Linked DNA regions of Homo sapiens: all the other regions are linked to region 3. The links are contacts of gene promoters, found by promoter capture Hi-C in blood cells and fetal thymus (Javierre and others, 2016). All regions are on one chromosome and are shown on one strand. The core of a region is centred on a gene start or on the middle of the fragment in contact, and the rest is flanking DNA. Distances in the headings are between cores, read along the strand shown.

What was found. The method cuts DNA at HindIII sites, captures the fragments that hold promoters and counts their contacts. A CHiCAGO score of 5 or more calls a contact.
Region 1: a fragment that was not itself captured here is called in contact with the fragment with the promoter of MKLN1-AS in region 3 in 1 of 17 cell types (neutrophils); the score reaches 8.2 in neutrophils.
Region 2: a fragment that was not itself captured here is called in contact with the fragment with the promoter of MKLN1-AS in region 3 in 17 of 17 cell types (naive B cells, total CD8 T cells, total B cells and 14 more); the score reaches 22.2 in naive B cells.
Region 4: a contact is called between a fragment that was not itself captured here and the fragment with the promoter of MKLN1-AS in region 3, in 7 of 17 cell types (neutrophils, naive B cells, total B cells and 4 more). The highest score is 13.6, in neutrophils.
Region 5: a contact is called between a fragment that was not itself captured here and the fragment with the promoter of MKLN1-AS in region 3, in 9 of 17 cell types (neutrophils, monocytes, total CD8 T cells and 6 more). The highest score is 10.5, in neutrophils.
Region 6: a fragment that was not itself captured here is called in contact with the fragment with the promoter of MKLN1-AS in region 3 in 17 of 17 cell types (naive B cells, activated CD4 T cells, naive CD4 T cells and 14 more); the score reaches 17.0 in naive B cells.

The regions. Positions count from the first base shown.
Region 1 is chr7:131,158,282-131,162,354 of GRCh38, reverse strand. It overlaps a transcript of MKLN1 not described here. Among named protein-coding and RNA genes, the nearest start is that of LINC-PINT, 50 kb to the right of the region's middle. The HindIII fragment of the contact is 743 bases long and covers 1,226-1,968 here.
Region 2 is chr7:131,122,267-131,126,516 of GRCh38, reverse strand. It overlaps a transcript of MKLN1 not described here. Among named protein-coding and RNA genes, the nearest start is that of LINC-PINT, 14 kb to the right of the region's middle. RefSeq lists a silencer at 1,961-2,040 and an enhancer at 2,181-2,340. The HindIII fragment of the contact is 214 bases long and covers 2,236-2,449 here.
Region 3 is chr7:131,325,572-131,329,798 of GRCh38, reverse strand. It overlaps MKLN1-AS (MKLN1 antisense RNA), which reads left to right and starts at 2,020. Exons shown (of 6, transcript NR_125364.1): 1 at 2,020-2,184; 2 at 2,864-2,993. It overlaps MKLN1 (muskelin 1), which reads right to left and starts at 1,923. Exons shown (of 18, transcript NM_013255.5): 1 at 1,802-1,923. The coding sequence starts at 1,899. RefSeq lists enhancers at 1,005-1,581, 1,588-1,887, 1,582-2,158 and a silencer at 1,938-2,097. The HindIII fragment of the contact is 3,998 bases long and covers 1-3,792 here.
Region 4 is chr7:131,142,636-131,147,048 of GRCh38, reverse strand. It overlaps a transcript of MKLN1 not described here. Among named protein-coding and RNA genes, the nearest start is that of LINC-PINT, 35 kb to the right of the region's middle. The HindIII fragment of the contact is 6,889 bases long and covers 1-4,413 here.
Region 5 is chr7:131,181,255-131,185,367 of GRCh38, reverse strand. It overlaps a transcript of MKLN1 not described here. Among named protein-coding and RNA genes, the nearest start is that of LINC-PINT, 73 kb to the right of the region's middle. The HindIII fragment of the contact is 1,565 bases long and covers 1,479-3,043 here.
Region 6 is chr7:131,074,935-131,079,044 of GRCh38, reverse strand. The region is part of intron 2 of LINC-PINT (long intergenic non-protein coding RNA, p53 induced transcript); the gene reads left to right. Among named protein-coding and RNA genes, the nearest start is that of LINC-PINT, 33 kb to the left of the region's middle. RefSeq lists a cis regulatory region at 95 and an enhancer at 23-167. The HindIII fragment of the contact is 3,718 bases long and covers 1-3,620 here.

The DNA.
Region 1 (4,073 bases), core at 348-2,847, 170 kb after region 3:
CACCATGAGCGTGTTGGTTCATTCCTATAATTCCAGCATTTTGAGAGGTCCAGGTGGCTGAATCACTTGAGGCCAGGAGTTCGAGACCAGCCTGGCCAACATGATGAAACCCCGTCTCTACTAAAAATACAAAAATTAGCCGGGCTTGGTGGTGCACGCCTGTAATTCCAGCTACTCCAGAGGCTGAGGCAGGAGAACTGCTTGAACCCAGGAGGATCGCTTGAACTCAGGAGGCGGAGGTTGCAGTGAGCCTAGATCGTGCCACTGCACTCCGGCCTAGGTAACAGAGTGATATACATATATATATGTGTGTGTGTGTATATATATATATATATTTGTATATCACTCTGTTACATATATATATATATATATATATATATATATATATATACACACACACACACGTATATATATGTGTATATATGTATATATAACATACTATTAAAATAGTGAAAAAAACAATGTGTTCAGAGTTACTAATCAGCACAGCAGCATCCCTTAGAATACCTGTGTCACGGCCAGGCATTGTGGCTCACGCCTGTAATCCCAGCACTTTGGGAGGCCGAGGCGGGCGGATCACGAGGTCAGGAGATCGAGACCACGGTGAAACCCCGTCCCTACTAAAAATACAAAAAATTAGCTGGGCGTGGTGGCGGGCGCCTGTAGTCCCAGCTACTCGGGAGGCTGAGGCAGGAGAATGGCCTGAACCCGGAAGGCGGAGCTTGCAGTGAGCCGAGATCGCACCACTGCACTCCAGCCTGGGCGACAGAGCGAGACTCCGTCTCAAAAAAAATAAAAAATAAAAAAAGAATACCTGTATCACTTGCTAAACAGCAGCAATAGCAGAGAACAGCAGGCTTTGTCACCACCAACAATGCCACTTGTAGCATCATAGTCCTCAAAAAGTTTTGGATTTTGGAGCATTTTATATTTTGAATTTTTAGATTAGGGATACTCAACCTGTATAGCATACCTTAATTCAGACTAACCATATTTCAAGCGCTTGATAGCCACATGTGACCCGTGGCTACCATACCGGAGAGTGCAAGTCTAGGAAAAAGGCTGTGACTCATTTAGCATTATGCTAGGCATAGAGAATTCTACAAAATCATCATGGATGTTATTGTTAGAGGACTGTGTAATCTTCTCAAAGCATTCACTTCTCTAGACTGACCCTGTCTGTCCTGCTCTTAGAAGTACCTGGAGAGGTTCCACTGCTCAAGCTTGAGCTCTTTAGTTACTTTAAGGGGTACTTCCTTATGGTCACTCCCCATCTATTGTATGGAGAAGGCGACCAAAAGTGGCCTCCGTGGGGGTTCTGCATAGAAAATACACACATGGAGTGTCAATGACCTTCAGGGTACTGACTTATGAAACCCCAAGAAGGAGACACCATCATATTGATAGGACAGGATAGGACATTTGCTAAAGCAACCACTTGCTCCTATACTTCTCCCCTTCTGAGTAGAGAGGCTTAGCTAAGTAATACATGTGATCAAAAGTTGATTTGTTAAATTAAACATAGGGCCAGGTGCGGTGGCTCATGCCTGTAATACCAGGACTTTGGGAGGCTGAGACAGGTGGATTGCTTGAGCTTAGGAGTTTGAGACCAGACTGGTCAACCTGGTGAAACCCTGTCTCTACAAAAAATGCCAAAAAAAAAAAAAAAAAAGCACAGTGTGGTGGCACATGCCTATAGTCCCAGCTACTCAGGAGGCTGAGGTGGGAGAATAGGCTAAGCCTGGGAGGCAGAGGTTGCAGTAAGCCAAGATCGCACCACTGCACTCTAGCCTGAGTGACAGAGTGAGACCCTGTCTCAAAATAATAATAATAATAATAATAATAATAATAATAATAATAATTAATAATAATAATAAAATAAGTTAAACATAGAGTTCCCTTACAACTGAATAATTCTCCTAGGTATGTACCCAAGAAAATTATAAAATGTACATTTCCACAAAAGCTTGTACACAAAGGTACACAGCAGCATTATTTACAATAGCCAAGAAATGGAAACCACCCAAATGCCCAAGAGCTGATGAATGGATAAACAGCATGTGGTATATTCATACAATGGAATCTTTTTCAGCCACAACAAGGAATGAAGGACTGATACAATATGGATGAACCTTGAAAACATTATGCTCAGTGAAAGAAGCCAGTCACAAAAGGCCACATATTACATGATTCCATTTATATGAATATTTACATTAGGCAAATCCATAGAGCCAGAAAGCAGATAAGTGGTTGCCAGGGTCTGTGGTTAGGAGAGAATTGAGAGTGACTCTACCAGGCATGGGAGTTTTTTTTTTCTAGGATGACGGAAGTGTTCTGGAGCTAGGCTCGGGCTCTGGAGCCAGGCAGCCTGTGTGAAAGCCCAGGTCTCATTACTCATTCGCTTTGTGACTTTGAGCCATGTTCCTACCTCTTCTGTGCCTCAGTTTCCCTTTACAATGACGATGATAAGAGTGCCTGGGCTTGTTATGAGGATTCAGATAGTTAACATATGTAAAGTGCTCAGGAGAATTTCTGGCCAGTGGTATATACTATTTTTTTTCCCATTATAATGTTTATGACTTTAAGAAAATTGATATATAATAGTCGTACATATTGTTGGGGTACATGTGATATTTTGAAACCTGATAGCTATTTTGAAATATATAATAAATTATAGTCAACTTTAATTTCCCTACTGTACTGCTGAATACTATAATTTATTTCTACTATCTAATTCTATGTTTGTACCCATTAGCCAACATCCCTTCCTCCCCCACTCCCCCTTCCCTTCCCAGCCTCTGGTAACCACCATCCTACTCTCCACCTCCATGAGATCCACATTTTTAGCTCTCAGATATGAGTGAGAACATTTGATATTTGTCTCACTGTGCCTGGCTTATTTCACTTAACAAAATGACCTCCAGTTCCATCCATGTTGCTGCAAATGACATGATTTCATTTTTTAAATGGCTGAATAATAGTCCATTGTATGTGTGTGTCTGTGTGTGTGTGTGTGTATCCACATTTTCTTTATCCATTCATCTGTTGATGGACACTTAGCTTGTGTGATAGATATTTCATAAGTGAACCTGATCAGCCTGTCCCCCACCCTTGCTTATTTCTGTCCATAGCATTAGTCACTTTCTTTTTCTTTTTTTCTTTTTGAGACAGGGTCTCTCTGTTGTCCAGGCTGAAGTGCAGTGGCACGATCTCGGCTTACTGCAACCTCCACCTCCGGGCTCAGGCGATCCTCTCACTTCAGCCTCCCTAGTAGCTAGGACTACAGGTGTGCCACCACACCCAGCTAATTTTTTTTTAAATTTTTTTGTAGAGACAAGGTTTCACCATGTTGCCCAGGCTGCATTCATCACTTTCTAACCTACCCTATAATAACTTGCTCATATATGTTGCTTGTAGCCCATCAACCCCTACTAGAAGGCAGGGATCTAATCTATTTGTATGCTGCTAGATTCCAAGCACCCCAAACAGTGGCTAGCACAGACAATGCACCCCATCACACTTTCTGAGTGAATGAACAAATGGTTGGCAATTCTGGCCAATGGCACTGGGCAGCCTGGATGGAAATGAGATGCACCTTTCACTGAACAGTTTTTGCACCATTTTCTATTCTACCATGTGCTCAGTCCTTTTCATAAAGGTGAAAAGTGAAAAATGAAATACAGAAAATAAGAATACTTGACCTGAGGGAGAAGCTGGTGGCATTAAACAGTAAGACTTTAGGCATCAGTGGAAAGTGTGTGATCTAGAGAAAAAAGTGAGGATGTGACTGCGGGTCACCTTTAGACTTTTAACCCCTGAGTAAAGAGTGGAATGACACCTCAGGAATGGCACTCAGTCCTACTCTTGAAGCACAGTATGTACACAGGTTAATAAGAAGTTTGTTTGTTTGTTTGTTTGTTTGAGATGGAGTTTCACTCTGTAGCCCAGGCTGGAGTGCAATGGCGTGACCTCAGCTCACTGCAACATCTGCCTCCCAGGTTCAAGTGATTCTCCTGCCTCAGCCTCCAGAATAGCTGGGACTTTGCCACCATGCCCAGCTGATTTTTTTATAT
Region 2 (4,250 bases), core at 1,093-3,592, 200 kb after region 3:
CCCTCCCAAAAAACACCGCCGTGTTAAATGTACCTACATTCTCATTTTAGAAATATTAAAAACATGGGGGGATATCTGTACCTTAGAATCTAGGACATGCTATAGTTAAATGACTCTATTTTTCACTTAACTACTCACATATGACAGTCTGCCCCATTCAATGGTACTATCCTTCCTTCTTTATTATTCTTTACTATAAACATAAGCAAAAATAAAAGTTCATAATTCATTGTCTTCAATACTTTTCCCAGACCTCAGCTGTCTCTGGTCATTAGCCCTTCTGGCATTATTCTCATGGGTCTCACGGATCTGAGCCCTCCTTTTTGAAGGAAGCCTCGTTATATACCCCTTCTCCTGCCTTTTGTACATGTCCTTCAAACGTACAAGCTTAATTGAACACTTCCAGAACAACCAGATTGATCTTTTTAATCTTTTTCTTCTGGATTTTTATTTATTAATTAATTAATTTATTTATTTATTTATTTATTTATATTTATCTTTTTTTTTTTTTGAGACGGAGTCTCGCTCTGTCGCCCAGGCTGGAGTGCAGTGGCGTGATCTCGGCTCACTGCAAGCTCTGCCTCCTGGGTTCACGCCATTCTCCTGCCTCAGCCTCCCGAGTAGCTGGGACTACAGGTGGCCACCACCACGCCCGGCTAATTTTTTTTGTATTTTTAACAGAGACGGGGTTTCACTGTGTTAGCCAGGATGGTCTCGATCTCCTGACCTCGTGATTCTCCTGCCTCAGCCTCCCAAAGGGCTGGGATTACAGGCGTGAGCCACCGTGCCAGGCTGTTTTTAATTTTTTGCAGAGACAGAAGTCTCACTTTGTTGCCCAGGCTGGTCTCGAACTCCTGACCTCAAGGAATCTTCCTGCCTGGGCTTCTCAAAGTGTTGGGATTACAGGTGTGAGCCACAGTGCCTAGCCTGATCTTTTTTTGGATGCTCGTCTTTTCTTCATTTAAACCACTGATTTTGTAAAAATGTACACTTCCAATCATATGACTCCTCTTGCCCTTTATTTCCTAGTTCCTGGCCAGAGGGAGTCTTGTGTCCATATTTTCTCTTAACTTGCTCCTCTCGTTCATGTCAGGTTAGCAGGTGCAGAATTGCCTTCTTTGGCTATTACAAATTCAAAGCTGCCCTGGTCACTTATTTTAAGTTGTTTGTCACTTCTACTTTGCCAACATATTTTTCTTAGCTGGTTAGAATTAAGCACAGAATAGTACTTCTTCAGTAAGCAATTAGTTTAAATTTAAGTCATGCCAACTTTATTTGACGATCACTTTTCAGCAGAATGAGACTGTCAGTAGATATCAGATAAGCTGAAGTTCTCCATTACCCCTATATCGTGTCCCTGTGCCAATAATTTTGTCATTTGTATTGGGAAAGCATTACTGATGTTGCCATAACAGGATCACAAGGCATGCTAGGAGTAGTTGACTGCATACAGCCAGTGGAGAGAGGGTATGAGCCAAGACCAGGGTTGGGGGATGCTCCCTAGAGCACGGGCTATGAATACAGAAACCAGCTTGGATCTGGGCAGCTGGCCTCTGCAAAACCTTGTGTCTCTTAATCACATAAAGTTCAGGAAGCTGTTAATACCAGGCAGTTTAGCCTTACCCTAGCAATGGGTTATCTATAAAGGGGAAGGCGCATATGTCCCATGGTTTGAGGAGAGCACAGCAGGGGTGTAGGCAGCAGAATACAGCCCTCTGCAAAGATGACTGGTCAGAACTAAGCTAAAGAAGACATCAGGATCATGGTAAAGTAGGCTGGGGTTCAAGACAAGGGACCCACATCCAAAGGGAGACTGGGATACAAGGCAGGAGGACCAGAGACTGAGGTGTTGAGGGCAAGGTGGAAACCCATATTGGGCAGAGGGGTGGGGAGGCACAATAGGAGGGAGCTACAGATGTCTGAGGCCCCATGGCTGACCTAACTGAAAGGAAGCACAATGGTGGGGCCGATACTAATGGTGACTTTCTCCAGTCTGAGCCAGCGTTTAAGTACTGGGGAGGCTGGGGGTTGGACCCATAAGTAGGGCTCCTTAGACAACCCAGCAGCTGGTTGCTAGAGAAGACAAAAGCAAGACAACTGGCCAGGTGCCTTATTGTATGCTCCTGTGACAATGTCACTTCTGCTTTTATTTTCAGCCAAATGTTCTCGGCCAGGTGTTCAGCCCCCAGGTTTGCGGGTTTCTATATGTGTCTGTGACCTCTTGACTTACAAGCTTACTCTGCTTTGCCTTTGGTTGTGTGCTTCTTTTGAATAAGTTACCTACCTTCATATTGCTGTAATACTACAACAACAGCTACCATTTACTCATTGTCTACCATTTCCCAGGTACTACACCTGCTGATTTACATACATGATCTTATTTAATTCTCACAACCTCCTTGAGAGGTAGGTGTTATTATCCTCATTTCAAAAAGAGGAAACTGAAGCTTATATGGTGTATGTAATCACCCCAAGGTCATGCAGCTGGGATGCAAAAGAGCTCAGATTTAAACTTAGTTTTGTCTGACTGCCTATTGTTGCTTTAAAAGACTGCATTTATACATTGATACTGTGATACACCTGAACAATTCTCACAGAACTTATCAGTCACTAGATCTTTTGTCTGTCAGTCTACCTACCTACCTACTTATGAATTATCTATCCTTTTATCTTCAACTCCATAATACCCAGTACTGTACTATGTAAGAAGTAGATTTTTTTTTTTTTTTGAGACAGAGTCTTGCTCTGTTGCCCAGGCTGGAGTGCAGTGGCACAATCTCGGCTCACTGCAACCTCTGCCTTCTGGGTTCAAGCAATTCTCCTGCCTCAGCCTCCCAAGTAGCTGGGATTACAGGTGCCTGCCACCATGCCTGGCTAATTTTTGTATTTTTACTAGAGACAGGGTTTCACCATGTTGGCCAGGTTGGTCTTGAACTTCTGACCTTGTGATCCACCTGCCTCGTCACAGGCCACCACACCCAGCTATTTTTATTTGTACTTTGTAGAGACAAGGTCTTGCTATTTCCCAGGCCATCACATTTTTAAATGATTGGAAAATGTGAAAAGAAGAATGATATTTTATGACACATAAAAATTATTTGAAATTCAAATTCATTTTATTGGAATATGGCCAGGTTCATTCATTTAAATTTTGTCTGTGGCTGCTTTGCACTACAATGGCAGAATTGAGTAGCTGAGACAGACTGTAGGGCCAGGAAGGCCTAGATTATTTCCTTTCTGGCCCTTTATAGAAATGGAAAAAGTTTGCTGATCTTTGGTATAACTAAATGATACAGGATGGCATAACATTTTAAATATTGTTTCAACTACATCTATTACTGTATTTCCTAAAATTTCCAGTTCAAGGACACTCTCTTTTATTATGTAGAAGAGCTCCACGTTCTTAGAACAGAGTCAAACATGTCCTTCTTTGATATTCTGTACAGCGGCCCTGATAGCAGCAACACTTTTTTTTTTTTTTTTTTTTTTTTTTTGAGACGGAGTCTCGCTGTTTCGCCCAGGCCGGACTGCAGTGGCGCTATCTCGGCTCACTGCAAGCTCCGCCTCCCGGGTTCACGCCGTTCTCCTGCCTCAGCCTCCCGAGTAGCTGGGACTACAGGCGCGGGCCACCACACCCGGCTAATTTTTTTTGTATTTTTAGTAGAGATGGGGTTTCACCGTGTTAGCCAGGATGGTCTCCATCTCCCGACCTCGTGATCCGCCCGCCTCGGCCTCTCAAAGTACTGGGATTACAGGCATGAGCCACCGCACCCGGCCCGCAGCAACACTTTAATGCAGAAACAATAACAGACTAAGAAGCTGGTGGTTTCTCTAAGAGGTTAGACGTCTCTTCCTGCCAGTAGTCACCTTTCTCTCTCATGGGAAACTGGGGCTGGGCAGCGTTATGAGTGATTACAGTGTATTACAGAACTGTAGTGGCACAGAAATGGATGCCCCCGTTTCCATCAACTCATTCAGGGTGATGTGGTGGAGTCATAGACGAGGAAAAGCAAATTGCCCTTTTCGTCATCACCTAGGACCTAAATAAAGATAAAAATGACTCAGATTGACCAGACACAGGTGAATATCACTTCTCAAAATGTTTTCTGAAGGTACTTACATGGCAACAATATGGTTCTGTGGGAGCCCCATCAATGTGTTAGCTCAAGAGTAAAACACAGGGAGCAGAAAGAACCTCCTTACATTTCCTAAGATCAAGCTGGGTTTGCAGTCAACTTCAAGGGAATCTG
Region 3 (4,227 bases), core at 771-3,270:
TTCTGCCCACTGCAAACCAGGGGCCAGAGTAACAAGACACAAAAGATTAAAGTTGCCATCCCACTAAATCATTTCCTGCTTGAAATGTACTTTCTTAAAATGTCTATACAACAGATAACGCGGATGGTACTTGTGTTATCCAAGCCTCAGGCCTACATCAAAAATTTAAGGAGTGACGTCCTGGAAATACGCTAATTCAAGACCAGAAAAATGTCTCTACAGTTAGATCAAACAATGCCACACCAATTCCCAACTGTCCATAATCCTAGCCTGGGTATAGAAAAAAGCTGAATAACTTCAGATCCAAGAACAAGATAGCCCAGAATATCAGAGGTCAAGTACATAGGGCCACATTTCAACTCCAACTACATGGCTGGACTGTTTATCTGGCTCACTCTCAAATTCAAAGTTGGGTTTCAGCATCAATCAGGGATATGGCCATGAATAGGCTACGCAGGCCAGATCAAACCACAGGTCACTTGGCACCCTTCATTGGGCCAGATCCTACTGAATGCCAACCCTTGACCTGGTGAATAAAATGGGAGGCTGGCAGTCATGACAGATTCTTCCAGTTGCAGCTCCATTTTGAGATTCTTCATTGATATAACCAGTGAAATCAAATTTGGATAAATGTGAAGAATTTCTCAAATACAGATGGAAAACTTACTTGAGTATGCTTCACAGATCTAGTCACTTTTTTGTTTAGTAAAATACTCAGTAAAATATATTATTCATTAATTTGTTTCGTTCATAAAATCGTTTCGGTCCTGTGAGATGGTTAGAGGGACAACTAGCACTTTTCTTCAGGATCTGCACAGATCTTAACCCTTTACTAAGCCAGTTCCTCCACTAGCATGTAAAATTGGAGTTAGATCTGCTCCTCCTTTCAAAGATAAGCCAAAGATAAATAAGATACTATGTAAGAGTATTTTCAGCATTTCAGAAGGAATTTGCTAGAGAAAAAAACACCACCAACAAAAACCTAACAATGCAACTGAATTTTTTTAACACCTAAATCAGGGATCAAGACAAAGCCGGTGTTGAAAATCAAATTCATTAAAGCCAGATGTTTCTATGTTTGAGTTTCCGGACTGGGAAACGTGTCTGTGTCCATACAAACCCATCTTCTAATGAGCCGTAATACTGAAATTCTTCGGTAACGTCCCTCCTTCCCACTCCCTATCTTTTTCAGAACTTCCAGGCATTAAAGACAACGTCTGCCAATCCTACAAGTTCTCCCCGCCTGCTAGGATTCAGATGGATTCCACAACTTTTCAGCCTTCCGTGACTTTTAACACTACTCTAGAGCTAATCACTTTTAATGACCCCACTCTGGAATAGACACTCCTCGGCTTTACACTTTGTCCCGGCAGCAATCGACTGAACTGTCCCCCGACGCCGACCACCTCGGACGACCTCAGACATTCGGGGTAGTTTGCCCGCGGGCAGGGCCCCGCCAACTCCGATTCCTGCCCCAGAGCCGTCCGCCCCCCAAGCCCTCCTCAACCTCAACCCCCAAATCCCAAGCGCAGAACCGCTGGGCTTCCGGTTCTCCTGTGCGCGCCCCGGATCCGCCACACACCTCGCCCCTTCTCCCTGGGCTCGCTCTCCGGACCCTAACCCCTTCCCGAGCGAGGCCGAGCAACGCTCTCAGCAGCTGAACTAAGACTCCGGAGGCCGCACGTCCCCCTCAGCAGGCCCCGCCTGGGCCTCTCGGCTCGGCTGCCCTCCATTGCACCCCTGGCCCAACCGTGCTGACGCGGAAGGGTGGGGCAGCACGAGCTCAAGGCCCGGCACTTACTCGGGAAGGTAGGTGGAGGAAAAGGAGCTCCACTTGTGTAGCGCGTAGGGGAGAAGCCGGCACTCGGGCGCCGCAGCGACAGCTCCGCCAGCCGCCATCTTGTCAGCACCGTAGCGGCCGCCACCGACCGCTGGCAGCGAACGGGAGGAGGGGAGGGGGCGTGGCCTGCTCTTAAAGGGGCCGCCGCCCTCCCCGGCCGCCCGCGCTCCCCGCCCCGCATCGTTACCCGAGCCCAGCGCCGGGCCAATGTCCTATCTCAGGGTTTCCCACGTCGCTCGCTCCTTGACGGCTGACCGACACTGGGTCTGAGGTGTAAGCGCTTTCCAGGCCCTTCCCTGGGGCTTGGAGGGGAATGGCGCAAAGGACTTTTCTTACAAGCAGAGGTAAGGAAAAGCCGAGATGATTACGAACAGAAACACGTTGTAGTTATGGAGCAGGAAGGGAAAATAAGAAGACCAAGTTGGAAAAGGGACGCCTGTGCGCTTTTGGAAGCCACCGCCCTCGCCAGTTTATAAGTCCTTTACGGAAACAACACTGAAGGGAGCTGGAGGGCAGTAGCTAATGTGCTGTCCTCCTGGAGTGGTCCTGGTTTTAAATGTCTTGTCCCCGCCTTCCAGAGTCAGATGGAGACAGGAAAAGGAAATGGTCCCGTGTCCTCCTACCCTGTTTGGTTTGCAGTCTGTGATGCCCTTCATTGTAAACATTTCTTGTGAGCCGCATCCTACTAATCTTGTGGCATTGGTTTGCTCGGGAATGACGTTCACCCACAGACCTGAAAAGTCCTTACAGAGTTGGGAAGCTGCGTGTCATCATTTTTTCAGTTGGCAAATCTGCCCACTTTGAACTGACATAATTGTAGCCTAAAAGTTCAGAGAGAGAGTAGTTCAGGAAAAAGACTATTCCTTCTTCTTAGAGGGAACAGCAGCCCTGAAAACTATGTGGACATCATACCAGCTTCTTACAACAAAAGGTGCACTTGGTCTAAATTATCTGGCAGCTCTAGATAACGTTCTCATCAAGTACCTGTTTGTTGTAGTTATGCATATTTATTCCTTGGCTTAGCCACTGCAGTTACCAAAGAGTATGTCGCTTATTGTCTAAGAGGTTGGACTCCTGAAAGCCTGGACAGTGTCATCATCTTCACCTGAAGAGTGGAAAAATTCAAGCAAAGAGTTTCTCAGGAAATGACCAAGTGAGTCAAAACACCTCAATAATTGTATTCTCTTCCCGTTGTAATCATTAACCTGCCGAAATTCCCTCCAGTCCTTTCCTGACTTCCTGTTTCTATAGATGGAAATTTTAATAGTGGGCTCTACTAGGATATCAAATCAAAAAAGCCAGATAGAAAGGCCAGGCCCGGCACGGTGGCTCACACCTGTAATCCCAGCACGTTGGGAGGCTGAGGTGGGTGGATCACCTGAGGTCAGGAGTTCGAAACCAGCGTGGCCAACATGGTGAAACCCCGTCTCTACTAAAAATACAAAAGTTAGCTGCGTGTGGTGACATACACCTATAATCTCAGCTACTTGGGAGGCCGAGGCACAAGAATCACTTGAACCCAGGAGGCAGAGGTTGCAGTGAGCCAAGATCACACCACTGCACTCCAGCCTGGGCAACAGAGTGAAATTCTGTCTCAGAAAAACAAATAAAATACAATAAAATAAAAAATTACATGTGCTTTCTGTGTTGCAGCAGGTTGGAAAAGCATGTGTTCCTTAAGGGAATGCTGTAACTGTAGTGACTTGGGTCGGGAGCTGCCAGAGACAGTGGGAAAGGGCCAGAGAATGTTAGCCCCAGAGATGATATAGTGGTTATCTTTGAAGAAAATAGACACTTTAAAGGGGAGGAATTAACTCACTCCAATTCCTTTGGGCCCCAGATTTTATAATTCCACTTCTTACCTTAATGTAAGTCAAGTCCTTGTTCTTTTCCAGACATAGTTCCTGAGCAATCTTTTTTAAAAACACATGTTAATTAGTTCTTCTTAAGCTTAAATCCTTTTGGTGACTTTCAATACCCTTCTAAACTGTTTAACAGAGGCCCTTCATAACCTGCCTTGATTTTTCTCTCCAGCTTCCTCACCACCACCCCCCCCCCACTTTTCTCCTTTGCGCTTTTGACATCTGCCCACTAACTAGCACACTGAATTTGTTCCCATAGAGTCCTTGTTCTCTCTAGCCTCCGGAGCTTGCTCTAAGCCAGGCATGGAATATTCTTTCCCATTCTTTACCTGGCTAACTCCAGCTCATCCTGTAGACTGTTTGGTCCTGGAAATTTTTTTGGTTTTTTTTTTTTGAGACAGAATCTCACTCTGACTCTGTCACCCAGGATGGAGTGCAGTCACATGAACATGACTCACTGCAGCCTTGACCTCCTGGGTTTAAAGGATCATGCTGCCTCAGCCTCCCATGTAGGTGGGACCACAG
Region 4 (4,413 bases), core at 1,254-3,753, 180 kb after region 3:
TAAATAAATAAAACATAATCAAATATCAGATGACTCCTTTAACCTAGCAGAATCATTTCCTTTCTGTTCTTTGCTTCCATCATACTTAAAAAACATACACGCAACTGCTATAGCATTTGTCACAAGGTACTGTAAGGATTTGCCCACCTGTCTTCTCCCCCACTGACAGCACATCCTCCAATTCACCTCTGCATCCTTCACACATTGGACATACCTGGTACAGGACCAGTATTCAATAAATATTTGTTTAAATGAATATTGTTCAAACAATTGCACAGGAATTCTCAAGGCCTTTGCCGGGAGTGACGGATTATCACTTTTGCTGAGGGTCCTCAGTAGACCACCCAGAAATGTGCTTTTCTTCAGGCACAATATATTGAGGTTCTGTCATTTCAGATCCCGCCAATGTTGTATTTGTTGCATTTGTTCATTCTTTTCACTTAATAAATAATTAGCAAGCACCTACTGTGTGCCAAGTCCTATGCTGGGCTCCATACAGTATACCCAAGTGGCAAATGGCCAGACTAATACAGTTCCTGCATATTACATATAGAGGGAATCTATGTACTATAGAATCATCCACCCTTTGAGATAAACTCCTCGGTTTGATTATTTCATTAGAGTGATAGGATCTCAAGGTGGGAAAGAACGGCTTTCTAGAAGTGAAAGTCCTTATACTTTACTTTTATTTTTATTTACTTATTTTAGAGACAATGTCTCGCTCTGATGCCCAAGCTGGAGTGCAGTGGCATGATCATAGCTCACTGCAGTCTTGAACTCCTGGATTCTAGTGATTCTCCTGCCTCAGCCTCCCCAGTATCTGGGACTATAAGCGTGTACCACCATGCCCACCTTAGGGTCCTCATAGAATAATAATTAAGGTTTGGGATCTGACTGCCTGGGTTCAAATCCTAGATCTGCTTTGTACCAAGGTGTAAGACCTTGGGCAAATTGCTTAATCCCTCTAAGCCTCACTTTCTCATCTGTAAAATGAGCTAGTGGGATTGATGTATTAGAAATGACAACCTCATTAATCACGTATTATGGTGTTTGCCATACAGTACACACTCACTATGTGTTTGCTATTATAAACAAATCTATTCTCCTCACTTCCTCACTCTAGTGTTTGAACTTCTGTCACAAATGTACCCAGTGAATGGGGCATGACTGCCCCACTTCCGGGCACCAGGGTCAGGGAATTTACTACCTCCAGTGGTTGTCCATTTGTCTGCTAGGCAAATCTAACAGTTGACCAATGTTAATGGGTTGAAATGTACGTGCTTACATCTCCACTCATTGGCCCTCAATCTGCCATTTGGGATTACCCAGAAGAGATCAAATCTCTCCTCTGCCGGATAGACCTCAAACTTTGAAAGGTAGCTACATATGCTAGTTATCACCATCCCCCTTACACACCTACATAAAACCTTGGATCTTTTTGTTATTTCTGAATAACTCTGTGCACCAGATTTCTTATTATCATTTTTATTTTTCCCATATAATCCTTTGTTGATCAATGTCTCTGAATGTCTGAAGCCCAGAATTCATAAAACACAATAAATGTGGTCTGATCATCAGTGAGTACTAGAGAACTAGTTCCCCTCTCGAACGTTACATTTCTATTAATACAACAAAAGATTGATTTTTTTTTAAAGCTACATCCCACTGTGTTGACTCATCTTCTTACAATCAACAGGAGACTGTAAATCTTCGTGCCGTGTGTAGCTGTAAGCCACCTCGCCCCCACTCAGTACCTGTACAATTCGAGGATCTTTGAGTACTTTATATTGGTACACATTAAACTCTATATTGTTTGATATGATTCATTATTACATTTTGTCAGGATTGGGGGTGGGGAGAGAATCTGATTGTATCCTCCAACCTATTTGTAATTCTTTCTAGTGTGTGTCATCTGTAAATTTGTTCGGCAGGCCATCAATGTTATTGTCTTAGTCATCGATATAAGTGTTCGGGGAAAAAGCAGATTTTCATTAGATCCCTGGAGATCCGAATATGCATCAGCCTCTTTGTTGTTGTTGTTGTTGTTGTTGTGGTTGTTGTTGCTGGTTGGGGGATGGAGTTTCAATCCTGTTGCCCAGGCTGGAGTGCAATGGTGCAATCTTGGCTCACTGCAACTTCTGCCTACCGGGTTCAAGCGATTCTCCTGCTTCAGCCTCCTGAGTAGCTGGGATTACAGGCGTGTGCCACCACGCCTGGCTAATTTTGTATTTTTAGTAGACACGGGGTTTCTCCACGTTGGTCAGGCTGGTCTTGAACTCCTGATCTCAGGTGATCCGCCCACCTCGCCCTCTCAAAGTGCTGAGATTACAGGTGTGAGCCACTGTACCCGGCCTGCATCAGCCTCTTTAAAAAGAAAAAAACAAACAAAACACAAGGGCCAGGTGTGGTGGCTCAAAAATGTACTTGTAACCCCAGCGCTTTGGGAGGTTGAGGCAGGAGGATTGCTTGAGGCCAGGAGTTCAAGACCAGCCTGGGTAACATAGCAAAACCTCATCTCTATTTTTAAAAGTATAAAAATTAAAAAGAAAAACTTTTTTTTTTTTTTTGAGACACAGTCCTGCTCTGTCACCCAGGCTGGAGTGCAGTGGCATGATCTTGGCTCACTGCAAGTTCCGCCTCCCAGGTTCATGCCATTCTCCTTCCTTGGCCTCCCGAGTAGCTGGGACTACAGGCGCCCACCACCACGCCCGGCTAATTTTTTGTATTTTTTTTTAGTAGAGACGGGGTTTCACAGGATGGTCTCGATCTCCTGACCTCATGATCCGCCCGCCTCAGCCTCCCAAAGTGCTGGGATTATAGGTGTGAGCCACTGAGCCCGGCCAAAAGAAAAACTTTTAAAATACATCATTCATTCAATCAAAAAATATTTACTGAGTGCCTTCTGTGTACCAGTTACTGTTCCAAGTGCTGAGCATCTAGTGCTGAACAAAAAAATTGCCTGCCCTCATAATGCTTACATTCTAGGAAAGGAGGTAGACAACAAACAAAGAAGTGTTATGAAAAACAAAATCAGTTATGGGGCTAGAGAAATTTGACAGTGGGGATGCAGTGGGGTTGACGATAGGCAGTATGGCTAAAACAGAGTTGTTTTTGGAGTATGGTTGAACTACACATGTCCTGCATTATTAAACTGGCCCAGAGTGGGCAGCAAGTCTTTCTGATTCTCAAAATCCACTTTTATTTTTATTTTTATTTTTTTTGAGATAAGGTCTTGCTCTGTTGCCTAGGCTAGAGTGCAGTGTTGTGATCATGGCTCACTGCAGCCTTGAACTCCTGGTCTCAAGTGATCCTCCTGCCTCAGCCTCCCAAGTAGCTGGGTCTATAGGCACATGCCACCTGTAGTCCTAGATAATTTTTAAATTTTTGTAGAGATGGGGTCTTGCTATGTTGCCCAGGCTGATCTTGGATTTCCAGCCTCAAGCAATCCTTCTGCCTTGGCCTTCCAAAACACTAGGATTACACGCATGAGCTACTGTGCCCAGCCAAAAATCCACTTTTCTCTATGTGAAGTCACTTTAGAAAATATCAATAGAGCAATGATGAAGAATTTTTTCTTTTTTTTGAGATGGAGTCTCGCACTGTCGCCTGGGCTGGCATGCAGTGGCACGATCTTGGCTCGCTGCAACTTCTGCCTCCTGGGTTCAAGCGATTCTCCTGCCTCAACCTCCCAAGTAGCGGAATTACAGGCACCTGCCACCATGCCCAGCAATTTTTTGTATTTTTAGTAGAGATGGGGTTTCACCATGTTAACCAGGCTGGTCTCGAACTCCTGACCTCGTGATTTGCCGGCCTCGGCCTCCCAAAGTGCTGGGATTACAGACATGAGCCACTGCGCCCAGCCAAAGAATTTAAATACTCATGAAACAGAGGAGAAAATGTGAAAGGATGGAATTCCTCAGAAGACTTCACAACATTTCTTTGTACACATAGCATATTCAAACATTGTGAAAACAACTAGACTAGTGAGGACTCCAGTCACATCTTCTGATGAAGACTCCAGAGAGAAGAATTTGAAAAGCATTACTATATAGGTACAGTACTTTTTTGACAACTAAAGAAAGAAAAAACTAAAACATCAACACTTACCGAATTCCAATCCCCATGTTTTCAAGCATGGAGCAGGTTATGAATCCAATAGTTTATGGAGTCAGGAGGATGGAATGTTTGGATGATCCCAAAACATGGTTTGAGAGTCTGGATATGGAACTCTGGAAAAGAAGCCCACAAGGGACAGATGTGAAGTCTACCTCTATTAATTGCCCTCTGCTTGCAATTCCTTTTTTGTTTTCTTTTGAGACATAGTCTTGCTCTGTTGCCCAGGCTGGAGTGCAGTGGGGCGATCTCAGCTCACTGCAAGCTCTGCTTCCCGGGTTCACGCCATTCTCCTGCCTC
Region 5 (4,113 bases), core at 1,012-3,511, 140 kb after region 3:
GACCTCAGGTGATCTGCCCACCTTGGCCTCCTAAAGTGCTGGGATTACAGGTGTGAGCCACCGTGCCGGGCCCCTAGGGAAAGTAGTTTAAAAGATGCATCTTTGAGAACATAGGTTGTCCAGTGGTACCAGTCACGTGCTTAAGGTTAGGAGTCAGAGAATTGTGTTCGCAGCTGCTCTCAAGTGCTTGATGTAAGTGAGTGATATTGGTAGTGGCATTGACAGTTCCTGCAAGGTGCAGTCTTACATTTACAGAGCATTACGGTGCATTCTGAACTCTGATCTGATTTCTCCCACCACCCTCTCCTCCTCTCGGGTGGTATGCATCAATGCTCAGGGGCAACTCCAGCAGGGTTTCTGCCAGCATGTGTCTGCCGTGTTGACTCTTTCCTGATGGCAGGCAAGTTATACAGTAGATCCATCCGTGTTGGCCTATTCCCATGGACACTTCAGCAAATTAGCATTTTGGAGAAGACTACACAGAAACATCCATAATACTGGTGAACCTGGCTGGGTGTGTGCATCTTTAAAAAAGTATTGCTGGCCGGGCATGGTGGCTCATGCCTGTGATCCCAGCACTTTGGAGGCCAAGGCGGGCAGATCACCTGAGGTCAGGAGTTCGAGACTAGCCTGGCCAATGTGGTGAAACCCTGTCTCTACTAAAATTACAAAAAGATTAGCTGGATGTAGTGGCGGGCACCTGTAATCCCAGCTACTTGGGAGGCTGAGTCAGGTGAATTGCTTGAACCCGGGAGGCGGAGGTTGCAGTAAACCGAGACCACGCCATTGCACTCCAGCCTGGGCAACAAGAACGAAACTCCATCTCAAAAAAAAAAAGTATTACTGCCAGTCATTTATGGAAGGCTTTGGAAGTCCCCATGGGGCCTTGCAAGCAACATGCCACTCAGCAGGGAAGATAAAGACAGGGAGAGACAGTGACTGGCCTGCAGCTGTTTCTAAGGACAGGCTTGCTCTGCTGAAAAAAACAAAGAACAGATATTTGGAATAGAATTTTGCATCTGAAACAAATATGGATTTGGAGAATTTTAGGTTTGAGCATTAAGACATTAGAAAATAAAGCCAGGCACAGTGGTGCACACCTATAGTCACAGCTACTAGGGAGGCGGAGTTGGGAGGATTGCTTGAGCCCAGGAGTTTGACACTGTAGTCATGCCTGTGATCATGCCTGTGAATAGTCACATAGTGAGACCCTGTCTCTAAAAAAACTAAAAAAAGAAAGAAAAGTGATCACAGAGTCCCTGCAGACCCTTGAAGTCTATGGTCTCTCTGAGTAGAGAACAAATGTGTCCATTCTCCCACCTCAAGGCAGCTTAAAAAAAAAAAGTAACTCTTCTTCTTTACTCCGTTTGCAAACTAGATAACTAGGAGGAGGTGAACAGGCAATTTCCTCGGTGGCCTCCACTGATCGTTTAGAGGATGCAACAAGGTACCAGGGCCAGGACTGGTTCCCACAAGCTTCCTGTTCTCAGTCTGAGGCACAACAGAGGCTAAAAAGAATTCAAAGATTCAAGAATTGGCTCTTAGAAGCAACCATGTGTCACCAAAGAGCTGGGCAAGATAGTGCTTGTTGGCTTTTCTCCTAGTCAAGAATTAACCATGAGACTTCTCTAGGAAAACATTGATTGCCTGGCTGGAAAACTTCAGAAACATTGAGTTGACCACTATTCTCAGGCACCTGCACATACATTTTTCAGGCCATTGGGTACAATTTATAGCATCTTATTTTCCAGTGAAAATAATCTGTTACTATATTTGTAGCCTGTTTCATACGGTTTAACACTTAATAATTCTCTGTTGTTTTTATTACGAAAACTTGCATTCTCTCATCTAGAGCAGAATCTCCCTGAGGGCAAGATTTACGCCTTCCAATTTCTTTGGACTCCTCCACAGGACCAGACAGAGAATGAAGGAGTACAATAGTGGGTGATCAAGAGGGAATGATTACAGGACAGAGTATTTGGAGACCTGGGCAGTTCCAATGCTCCCCACCCCCGTCAAGCTGAGTATAGGTCCTCAGAAAGCACTTAAGTCTCAGAGTTGCCATTTCCTCATTTTCAGATTACCTCTCTTACCTTACCGGTTGTTGGGAGGATCAAATAAGATAATGTCTGTGAAAGTATTTTGTGAACCAAGATCTGCTAGCCACTGAAATGTAAGAAGTCATCAGAAGAGGCACTTAGTAAATATCTGATTGATTTTTAATGATAAGATATTGTCTTCCCCTTTCTCCTTTACATTCAGCTCCTTTGAGGGTGTTATTTTGCAGGATTTCACTTTATATGAGTAGCAAAACCACTCCACATCCACCTGATGCTGTGTGGTAGGTCCCCTAGTGCATTTCATCTCATAATTATCTTAAAATTTGATTGACATTTAAGCAAACCAACCAAAAAAGTCACAAGGTATGCCATGGTCACGTTGATCACATAGAATTTGTCAAGATCAATGCATGTGTAACCCACTGGCATTTCAGAGCCTTTCTTGTGCTGCTGCGTCAGCCCACTAAAATTATACCCTAGGCAAAGATTATGTATATTTCTGTACTCTAGTGCATAGTTCATACATGAGAGTGGCAGATCATTGCTCTAAGCCCAGGCCAGAGAAAAAGAACATTAAAATGTGGCAGTATAATGGGGAATTTCACAAAAAGGTGACACTATAAAACAGACTCTTAAAACAACTCATTTATTTGTAAGTCTTTATTCTCTATTTGTTCTTAGCAAAGAAGACAATCTCTCTATAGTAACAGAATTCTATATGACTCATTAGAGAAATCTTTCAAACATGGTTATTCCTTAAAATGCTTCTGGAAGATATAAGGTTTGGTCTTAGGGTTTCTTCTCACTCAACTGGAGGAAAAATAGAGATGCTAAAGGATAAGCTAAATTGTATATTCCAGGGATTTGTTTATGTAAACTCCTGATTCCTCATCTAGTTCTTTGGGCCCAAATAACGTGAAAGTAAAAATAATTAGAGAGTGACAGCTTGGCTGTGGTAAGCATTGTCTTCTCTTACTGAAGCTTTTCAATTCCAGTATTTTCAAACCCTATTCCTGAAAGCTATGGGAACCTGTTTTTCCCAAATTCAATCATACAGTGTCAACTGCAGGACTGGTATCCAGGTTTGAAGCATTTTGTCAACATATTGAATCCAGACCAGTTTTGAACTCTATTAACTCTATTGATGAACATATTTATGATGGGTTTTTTTTTGGAGATGGAGTTTCACTCTGTCACCCAGGCTGGAGTGCAGTGGTGCGATCTCGGCTCACTGCAGCCTCCCCGTCCCGGGTTCCAGCAATTCTCCTTCTTCAGCTTCCCGGGTAACTGGAATTACAGGCACGCACCACCACACCCAGTTAATTTTTGTATTTTTAATAGGGATGGGGGCCGGGTGTGGTGGCTCACGCCTGTAATCTTAGCACTTTGGGAGGCCAAGGCAGGTGGATCACTTGAGGTCAGTAGTCCGAGACCAGCCTGACCAATATGGTGAAATCTCGTCTCTACTAAAAATACAAAAATTAGCTGGGCGTGGTGGCTTGCGCCTATAGTCCCAGCTACTCAGGAGGCTGAGACAGGATAATTGCTTGAACCCAGGAGGTGGAGGGTGCAGTGAGCTGAGATCGTGCCACTGGACTCCAGCCTGGGTGACAGAACGAGACTCCATCTCAAAAAAAAAAAAAAAAATAGGGATGAGGTTTCACCATGTTGGCCAGGCTGGTCTCAAACTCCTGCCTCAGCCTCTCGAGTTATTGGGACTAAATGTGTGCGCCACCAAGTCCAGTTAATTTTTTTTCTTTTTGGTAGGGATGAAGTCTCCCTGTGTTGCCCAAGCTGGTCTCGAACACCTGGCTTCACTTGATCCTCCTGCCTTGGCCTCCCAAAATGCTGAGATTATAGGTGTGAGTCACTGCGCCTGGCCTGAAGCCTAATTTTTAATAGATGTTAGTAGCTAGTAACATTAAACTCATACTAAATACCAATACATTTTAATGTTTAAACCTGATAACATGTTTATGCATATATAGTTTTCTATAATAATTTTATTTTCATCAGATGCTTTTCTTTCTTATTCTCAAATTTCTCCCACTTC
Region 6 (4,110 bases), core at 512-3,011, 250 kb after region 3:
AGACGGAAACATATTCACATGTGTGTGAATGGGTGAGATTATATAAGGAGAGCTTGCTGAGCAAAACGAGAGAGGGTCATGCAGAGGACTCTGGGACACTCCAACATTTAAAGGGCACACTCGGGAAAAGAGCCATTTAAGAACAGTTTCAAAAGGAGAGATAGCCACAAGAGGTCAAGCTGAGATGAGCAGGAATACGAAGCCATTGGAACAGAGTGAGACCCTGTCTCAAACAAACAAAAACAACAACAAAACTTTTTCAAAAGAATTTGTTGTAAGATTTTTAAAAATACCAAGCACTTTTCAGTATGTGTGTGTGTAGCGGGGGTAAATATATACATAACATAAACTTTACCATTTAATCATTCTTGAGTGGTTTTTTTGGCATTAAGTACATTCACATTGTTGTGCAACCATTACCACCATACATCTCCAGAACCTTTTCACTTTCCATGATTGAAACTCTGGCTGGGCGTGGTGGCTCACGCCTGTAATCCCAGCACTTTGGGAGGCCAAGGCAGGCAGATCACGAGGTCAGGAGTTCAAGACCACCCTGACCAACATGGTGAAACCCTGTCTCTACTAAAAATATAAAAATTAGCAGGGCGTGGTGGTGCGCACCTGTAATCCCAGCTACTCAGGAGGCTGAGGCAGGAGAATCGCTTGAACCCAGGAGGTGGAGGTTGCAGTGAGCCAAGATCACGCCACCACATTCCAGTCTGGACGAGAGTGAGACTCCATCTCAAAAAAAAAAAAAAAAAATTCTGTACCCATTAAACAACTCCCCATTTCCCTCTCCTCCATCTGCTGACAACCACCATCCTACTTTCTGACTACTCTGGGAACCTCATACAAGAGGAATCATACAATATTTGTCCTTTCGTGACTGGCCTGTTTCAGCGCAACGTATTCAAAGTTCATCCATGTTGTAACCTGTCAGGATTTCCTTCAGCATCTTAAAAATATAATTTGAATATAGTTTTTTTTTTTTTTTCAAGAAACCAACTATTTACAACCATTACAAAGTCCTACGATCTGCCACATCAGTTTTACACAGGGAAGGGAATTAGAAGAAGGGAATTCACGTCAATCACAGACATCCTGTCGAGCATGTGTCAGGTGCCACATTGGTTCTAAGTGCTTCATCTAACTCATTGAATCTCCGTAACAATTCTGTGCAGTGACATTATTTTTCTCATTTTACAGCTGAATAAACTGATTTTCAGAGAGTTTATGTAGCTTGTGCAAGACCACACAGCTGGCAAATAACTGAGCCAGGATTCAAATCCTGATCTTCCCAATACCCAAGGCCATGCTCTTTTTAGGACCCTTCAGTTCTCCCTTTAGTCCTTTCTCTAATTATGTCACTCTGAAGGAGTCAAATCTCTTTGCTTTGAATTTAATGAAGTTGTGCTTTAAGGTTTTCCTGGTGTTCAGCAAATATACAAGGCTCCTCATGACATTAAACTGCTCTTATATTGTATTTAACCTTTTAAGAACAGAATCAAGCATTTGCCAAAAGTAGAGAATTAATTGTGTAACTAATTAATTCAGTTCACATAGTTATTTGTTTAATGTTGTTTGATGTGTCTGTCCAACTTAATATTTATCTGGGGTCGTTGACAGAACTACGTTGATTTGTAGGATAGGTTTCTGAAGGAAAATACTTTTTTTAAACTAAACAGTTTCTATTCTAATCACAAATAGGAAAGGAAGAAACTTTTTAAAATGAAAAATATATAACCACTCATTTTTGAGGATCTCACAAAAACAAAGTATTATGCAAGTAATCTGAAGCCAAAAGCCACAGGCTGAGATTTGCCATGCTGAAGGTTTTTTTTTTTTTTTTTTTAATCTACAAATGTTTCTTTGAATTCTTGAATGCTCTATCCTGTGCCAGTGAAAGATGTTTTTCTTTAAAGATCTTAGCAGTGACTGACATATCACTGTTTGAGCAGATGATCCTGAGAAAGTAACCAAAGCCATTTACAGAACAGGCGTTTCTGTAACTTGGGCCCTTTACGGAAGTAAGCCAGTGGGCTTGCGTGTTGTTTGAAGACTGGGCTTATCTTTGTTCAGTGTTTTGCTTTGAGAGCACGACTGACTTTGAGTTTCATCTGCACTCTGTGACCAATTGTGAGACAGACCCAAAGTCTGAAGTTTGTGTTGACTTTAGAAAGTCATTCTCTGAAGCCTTTTTTTGGAATGAGTTTAAAGAAGGAAGAGTACCAAAAGCCAGGTCCAGTCTTGTAGTGGATGTTTTGGAAAGAAAGGATCATGGTTCTCTGGGACCATCAGAGTGGATCAGATTACATTCTAATGTAATGATGAAAACAAAGAACAATAAATCAGAGGGACTCTAAAACATCCTAAAATCTTCCCTCAGGCAAATAATACCAAATCTTCGAGGGTGGATAATTGTTTTCTCTCCATTTTCTTTTTTCTTTTTCCTTGCAGATTGACAGAATTAAAAATTTGACAAGCCCCATCAGTGGTTCATTTAAGTGTTTTGGTATACAGGTGATTAGAAACTATAAAATCTCTTCTGCTTTATTTTAAAGCTATTGTCTTGCTCAGACTGCGTAATTTAAAGGCAACTGTGTTAATGTCTGTGGTGAAAAATTTCTGATCCTAAAAGTCATGGACAAAAAGGGGGCATTTGCCTACCTAGTGTCAAGGAGCTTAAACTGTAATCAGAAGTCCATGCATTATTGTTTTATTCAAATGTAAAGGGAAGATGAATGCTCAAGATACCGCAAAGGATCTTCTTAAAATATGCAATTTGTGTGACTCTTGCTGAGTCAGATGAGTGGGTGATGCTGGGCAGAGCTGTAGAAGAAAACTGACTTTCAGCAAGGAATAAGAATCCATGCTAAACAGTACAGAAGTGAGGCTGAGAATATGCTCAAGGAGAGTGCGGTGGTTGGAATGTTTGTCCCTTCCAAAACTCACGTTCACATTTAATCCCCAGTGTGGCAGTATTGAGAGGTAGAATCTTTAAGAGGTGATTGGGTCATGAGGGCTTTGCCCTCATGAATTGATTAATCCACTCATGGATTAATGGATTAACGGGTTAGTGGATTAATGGGTTGTCATGGGAGTGGGGCTTGTGGCTCTGTAAGAAGAGAAAGAGAGAGCAACACTCAGCCCCCTCGCCATGTGATGCCCTGCACTGCCTCGGAGTTTGCAGAGACTCACGACCAGCAAGAAGGCTCTCACCAGATACCGTCTCTCAACCTTGGACTTCCCAGTATCCAGAACTGTAAGAAATAAATTTCATTTCTTTATAAGTTATCCAGTTTCAGGTATTCTATAAGCAACAGAAAATGGACTAAAACAGAGAGGGAAGCCTCTGGAAGGGGGAAGCCTGAGTGGTTAAGTGGTGAGTCCAGCAGCTGAGGAGAAAACTTTTGACCTGAAAGGACTAGATCTGGGACCCAGATGGAAAACGACTTCCTCTTTTTACCTTGGGGTTTGAGAGAGTGCTCAGCCTGGGTCTAGGAGTGGAGGTAGACCAGCCTAACAGAAAGGACTGAGTCCAAGGAATTGCTAGCCAGAGGGAAAATAAAATAAAATCATGGAAGGCTTGGGAGATGCCTTTTGATACTTTAAACCAAGCTTGTCCAACCTGTGGCCTGCAGGCCACATGTGGCCCTGGACAGCTTTGAATGCGGCCCAACACAAATTAGTAAACTGTCTTAAAACATTATGAGATTTTTTTTTTGTATGATTTTTTGTTGTTGTTGTTAGCTAATCGCTATCATTAGTGTTAGTATATTTTATGTATGGCCCAAGACAATTTTTCTTCCAGTATGGTCCCGGGAAGCCAGAAGATTGGATACCCCTGCTTTAAACCTACCATGATAATTGGATACTGTGAGATTTTTATGTGTAAAATGTAGTCCAGATGGATAGCATTTGAATTCCCAGGATACATAGCAGTAATTTTTTTGTTTTTCATAGCAGTAAATTTTTTGGTGTTTTTGAACAAACTCGAAGTCTATTATTCACTGCGGAGTACCAAGTAGGATTCTCTCATTAGCAGATAAGAGAAAGCAAAATATTGTGTCTTTACAGGAGAAAACTATGTATTCAATTAAGATAGGGTGA